Regions from separate parts of the Homo sapiens genome. Here region 1 is linked to region 2. Evidence: promoter capture Hi-C in human tissues and cell types (Jung and others, 2019). All regions are on one chromosome and are shown on one strand. Each heading gives the region's core, a stretch centred on a gene start or on the middle of the fragment in contact. The rest is flanking DNA. Distances are from core to core; before and after follow the strand shown. Region 1 overlaps NUDT6 (nudix hydrolase 6). Region 2 holds the start of FGF2 (fibroblast growth factor 2).

Region 1 (2,904 bases), core at 146-2,645, 92 kb after region 2:
AATTTATTGTTAGTTACTGTTAATCTCTTACTGTGCCTAACTTATAAGTTAAACTTTATCATAAATATGTGTGATAGGAAAAAACATGGTATATATACATAGGGTTTGGTACTATCTGCGGTTACAGGTGCCCACTGGGGGTCTTGGAACACATCCTGTGCAGATAGGGTGGAACCACCGTAATCATTTAATCAAATAACTCATTCCACATGAATAAACTATTTGCTTAGCTGTAACAAGCAAGAAATTGGGTGAACGTCTAAAAAGTTAATTCTGCTCATCATGAGTTTGAAACTGACCTGCAACTCCTACTTGATGTGAAGCATATCCTGGTAATCTGCTGGGCCCTTCTCTCAGCCACAGAGTCAACGTTGATGAATCCGATTCTGCGTGGTGAAAGCAGAAGCCCAGGGAAGCAGCAGGGGCAATAAATCGGCTTTGGAGGATGGGAATGTGCAGCCATACAGCTGTTCTACCTTCTGATCGCCATTGCTGTACTGCAGCTAAATGCAGAAGAAAAAAGTCTAAATAATTTCCAAAGAGACGAGTGGAATAAATTAAAACTCACCTCAGGGTTTCGCCTCCTCCAGGAAACCATCTTTAAGCAAAAGAGGTCCCCAAATGTCTTGTTCACATCGCTGGCACTGGAAGTACCATGTTTTATAGTAACCACCTTGTTTATATGATTTTTCCATCAGACTGAATTCCTTCAGAATAAAGTCATTACACTGCTGACCTTTATATCCATACCACCAAAGACAATGCTTGGCACGTAACAGATGTTCTGTAGTTTTAGAGTGGACAAATAAAAGGATTTAAACCGAATCAAATACCATTTGAATGCTGTTCCTTTTAACATCCTTAGGTTTAATCTTAAAGACAATTATGGACTTCTATTTTTTTCTTCCTTTAGGAGTTCTGTTATAATGTTTTTAATGTATAAATTTCAAGGTAGTTAAACTTTGTTTTTAAATAATGTATGCTGGTTGTAGAAATTTTGAAAATAAAAAATATGAAGAAATCAAACTTCACATTTTACTAGCATATAGGAATAAAATTCTAATTTTTCCTTATTATAGATAATATCATGGTGAACATAATTATAGGTTTTCTATCTTTGCCTTCTTTAAATTCTCTTTACTACTTAAGATTGAGCCAGGGGAAAAAGATGCTAATATCTATTTGAAACTTACTAAGTTCCAAGCACTTTATATATATTATCTCATTAAGTGCACAACCATGAAAGGTATTACTACCTTAAGTTTATGGGTGAAGAAATAAATACTTCAGATTTAGAGTTTTTAGAAAAGCTTTTCAGATCACTTTCTTCATCCATCATCTCACTTAATCTTTATAATAACGCTATAAAGCGTGTGTGTGTGTCTGTCTTTGGGGGTTGATTATATATCAAATAGTTAATTAACTTTCCCTTCTCTTTTCCCTAGCTCTGCAGGAAGCTCCTCTCTTTAAGGACAATGTTCTCTACCTCTTTGAAAGTTGCTGTGCCTAGCACAGTGACAGGCACATGGGGCCTTTAATAAAGACTTCCTGATTTGAGTTAGCATGCAGTGGAATTATGGGATCAGGTCCTTCTCACCTTGCTCTCTTTGTCTGATGACATCTTTTAAAAATTGAGGTAAAGTACATAAAGTGAAATGTACAAATCTTAAGTGTACATTTCATGCGATTTGACATATGCATATGCCCGTAACACACTTTAACATTATAGAACATTTCTATCACTCCATACATTTCACATGTGCTCCTTCCCAGGCAATCCTTCCAATCAAATTAAAAGGCTACTTTCTAAAAGCAATGCTATTTGCTTGCTGTTTTATATCTACACTCTGTGTCTTGGAGAATCCACTCTCACTGCTTCAGCTGATACATACATGAGGATGGCTGCCCAGCCCTGACCTCACTGAACACTAAACTTTCTGTTCTCCAGTTGCTCCCAGACATTTCCTGTCCTGAAGGTTACCACTTCAGACTTCACAAAGTGTGTTCAAAACTGAATCTTTTGTTGTTGTTGTTGAGACGGAGTCTTGCTCTGTCACCAGGATGGAGTGCAATGGTGCAATCTCGGCTCACTGCAACCTCTGCTTCCTAGGTTCAAGCGATTCTCCTGTCTCAGCCTCCCAAGTAGCTGGAATTACAGGTGCGTGCCACCATGCCCAGCTAAGTTTTGTATTTTTAGTAAAGACGGGGTTTCATCATATTGGCCAGGATGGTCTTGATCTCTTGACCTCGTGATCTGCCCGCCTCGGCCTCCCAAAGTGCTGGGATTATAGGCGTGACCCACCGCGCCTGGCCAAAACTGAATCTTACACCCCAAACTAGCTTCATTTATAAGCTTATTTATTTCTGGCACCAATGCTTGAAACCTTAGAATCATTTTTAAATTGCTTTCTTCTTTTCCCTAATAAGCTTTATTGCTTTTTCTTCCCTCACCTCCCATTCCCATTGCTAATATCTATCCTTTAAAGTCCAGCTCATATTCCACATCTTTGACCAGTCTTTCCTAACCACTGCTCATGAGCTCACCATTATGAATTTAAAGACTACTATGTCTGTACAATTTATTAGAACTTATTACATATGACCTAATGATATCTCTTCCATTAGCTATTTTTTCCAATTCTATTTAATATTCCATGCATTTGCAATCCTCCAGGGTAACCCTACATTATGCACTGGGGCTCAATTTGTACTAATGAAATGACTGGCTTGCCTAAAGTCACATAGCTGGTGAGTGGCATAGCAGGGACCAGAACCAGTGCTATTTCATTACTGATGCAGATATGTTATGTGTGAAGCTAACAACATATTGCCTGTTTATCCCTCTAACTTCAGTTGTTGGTAACAAAACATCAATAGTTCATGTTCTAAAAGAATATGAATAGT
Region 2 (3,109 bases), core at 234-2,733:
GCGCATGCCTGTAATCCCAGCTATTCGGTAGGCTGAAGTAGGAGAATCGCTTGAACCCAGGAGGTGGAGGTTGCGGTGAGCCGAGATCGTGCCATTGATCTCCAGCCTGGGCAACAAGAGCAAAACTCTGTCTAAAAAAAATAAATAAATAATAAAAATAAAAACAGTATGCCTGGTTTTAAAGCTTCAAAGAATTTACTCATTCTCCTGTATGTAACATTCTAGAAATGCATCTGGAGTTAAAGCCTTCTTGGAGACTTAAGAACAAATGCACTTATGCATGGCCTTTTGAAACCTAATGTTTCTACAAGGAGGCACGTCCATACTTGCAACTCCTTCTAGAAGCTTCCCCAAATCTCCTGCCTCCCCACGCTGAGTTATCCGATGTCTGAAATGTCACAGCACTTAGTCTTACTCTTCTATGGCCTACTTTCTACTGCTATTTGTGTTACTCATGCTACCCATCTTATCTCCCTCAGTGTGTGAGACGCTGGCATCAGATTTGGCATCTCCCACACACTCAACATTATGTGTTGCACACAGTAGGTACTCAATACATGCAAGTTTTCTGAATAGATATTTTCCTAGTCATCTGTGGCACCTGCTATATCCTACTGAAAATTACCAAAATGCAATTAACTTCAATTTTACATTTGGGATTTACAGAAAATAACTCTCTCTCCAAGAAATGCATAACAATTTAGCTAGGGCAAATGCCAGGTCCGAGTTAAGACATTAATGCGCTTCGATCGCGATAAGGATTTATCCTTATCCCCATCCTCATCTTTCTGCGTCGTCTAATTCAAGATAGGTCAGTAAAGGAAACCTTTTCGTTTTAGCAACCCAATCTGCTCCCCTTCTCTGGCCTCTTTCTCTCCTTTTGTTGGTAGACGACTTCAGCCTCTGTCCTTTAATTTTAAAGTTTATGCCCCACTTGTACCCCTCGTCTTTTGGTGATTTAGAGATTTTCAAAGCCTGCTCTGACACAGACTCTTCCTTGGATTGCAACTTCTCTACTTTGGGGTGGAAACGGCTTCTCCGTTTTGAAACGCTAGCGGGGAAAAAATGGGGGAGAAAGTTGAGTTTAAACTTTTAAAAGTTGAGTCACGGCTGGTTGCGCAGCAAAAGCCCCGCAGTGTGGAGAAAGCCTAAACGTGGTTTGGGTGGTGCGGGGGTTGGGCGGGGGTGACTTTTGGGGGATAAGGGGCGGTGGAGCCCAGGGAATGCCAAAGCCCTGCCGCGGCCTCCGACGCGCGCCCCCCGCCCCTCGCCTCTCCCCCGCCCCCGACTGAGGCCGGGCTCCCCGCCGGACTGATGTCGCGCGCTTGCGTGTTGTGGCCGAACCGCCGAACTCAGAGGCCGGCCCCAGAAAACCCGAGCGAGTAGGGGGCGGCGCGCAGGAGGGAGGAGAACTGGGGGCGCGGGAGGCTGGTGGGTGTGGGGGGTGGAGATGTAGAAGATGTGACGCCGCGGCCCGGCGGGTGCCAGATTAGCGGACGCGGTGCCCGCGGTTGCAACGGGATCCCGGGCGCTGCAGCTTGGGAGGCGGCTCTCCCCAGGCGGCGTCCGCGGAGACACCCATCCGTGAACCCCAGGTCCCGGGCCGCCGGCTCGCCGCGCACCAGGGGCCGGCGGACAGAAGAGCGGCCGAGCGGCTCGAGGCTGGGGGACCGCGGGCGCGGCCGCGCGCTGCCGGGCGGGAGGCTGGGGGGCCGGGGCCGGGGCCGTGCCCCGGAGCGGGTCGGAGGCCGGGGCCGGGGCCGGGGGACGGCGGCTCCCCGCGCGGCTCCAGCGGCTCGGGGATCCCGGCCGGGCCCCGCAGGGACCATGGCAGCCGGGAGCATCACCACGCTGCCCGCCTTGCCCGAGGATGGCGGCAGCGGCGCCTTCCCGCCCGGCCACTTCAAGGACCCCAAGCGGCTGTACTGCAAAAACGGGGGCTTCTTCCTGCGCATCCACCCCGACGGCCGAGTTGACGGGGTCCGGGAGAAGAGCGACCCTCACAGTGAGTGCCGACCCGCTCTCTCCGCCTCATTTCCATTTCGTGGGTTCTCGCCCGCTCTCTCCCCTCCAGCCTGCACCCTCCTCCCGGATCTTCACTGCGACCCTAGCGCTCCGTGTGGTTTCTGGCCGCGCGGCCCTCGGCGGTTTCGGGTTCACCACTCACCCCCTCCTTTCCGGGCTGCGGCGTAGGCCCGGGTGTCCCCTGGGCTTTGGGGTGTGCCAATTTGCCCTGTAAACCAGTACCCCCGGCCCGGAGCCGCGGCGCGCCGGGGCCTCGCGGACTGGCTGTCTTCCCGCGGACAACCTGTCGCGTCGGGGATGCCCGCGGCCCCGCCATGCAGCTCTGGCCGCTTCTATCTGCTGCGTGCTGTCCCGGGGACAAAGACAGGAAGGACCGCAGCAGAACGAAACGGTCTTTACTGGAAAAACACCTTTCTAGAGTCCTGCCCTTAAATTCCGACTCGGGACGACCCGAGGCATATGGCACACTACTCTCACCCACTCTGTTTTATATTTTTCCGAATTGACGAAAGCTGAAAGAGCAAAAACAAAAACCAACCAGCCAACCAGCAAAAAATCCAGATGTTGTTAATAAAGTGCCATAGCTTTGTTTCAGTAGTGAAAAGAAGTGCAAACACTTTAATCTTCCACCTGCAGTGACTAGCTTTGAGACCTTGAGCCGACGCTTAACCCCAGAGCCGGTTTCCTCATCGCTCACGTGGGGCTAATATATTACTACCTTGCAGCAGGCTTGAGGATGAAATGAGAATTGCAGTTTTGCTTTCTGTAAGAAACAATGTTTGTGGTTCTAGAAAGAACACTGGCCTAAATAAGGAGTGCTTGGACTTTAGGGGATTCCCTAAGTCTGGAGTGGGGGCTGAAGATTTGCATTTCTAACATGTTCCCCGGGGATGCTGATCACATCACACTTTGAGAGCCACTGGTCTAGAGGAAAGAGAAAGAAAGGGGCATAAGATGAGCCGATTTACAACACTGATGGAATTTGAAGTGAGAGAAAGAGGACTAGAATATATTGTAACCTGTCCTCCTGTAAGTGTATGTAAACATGTGTTTTAAAAGCTGTGTGTTATGGCGTTCCTTCCTT

What was found. The method cuts DNA at HindIII sites, captures the fragments that hold promoters and counts their contacts. A contact is called where the count stands out against the background at its distance.
Region 1: a fragment that was not itself captured here is called in contact with the fragment with the promoter of FGF2 in region 2 in 7 of the 25 tissues and cell types used here (adrenal gland, aorta, dorsolateral prefrontal cortex and 4 more).

Annotation. Positions count from the first base shown.
Region 1 is chr4:122,917,202-122,920,105 of GRCh38, forward strand. NUDT6 (nudix hydrolase 6) reads right to left here. Exons shown (of 5, transcript NM_007083.5): 2 at 300-503. Among named protein-coding and RNA genes, the nearest start is that of NUDT6, 3.9 kb to the right of the region's middle. The HindIII fragment of the contact is 3,529 bases long and covers 1-2,904 here.
Region 2 is chr4:122,825,348-122,828,456 of GRCh38, forward strand. It overlaps FGF2 (fibroblast growth factor 2), which reads left to right and starts at 1,484. Exons shown (of 3, transcript NM_001361665.2): 1 at 1,484-2,005. The coding sequence starts at 1,828. RefSeq lists promoters at 343-1,525, 694-1,661, cis regulatory regions at 718-788, 789-827, silencers at 1,327-1,806, 2,147-2,441 and enhancers at 2,027-2,106, 2,389-2,914, 2,787-2,926, 2,915-3,109, 2,967-3,016. The HindIII fragment of the contact is 11,104 bases long and covers 1-3,109 here.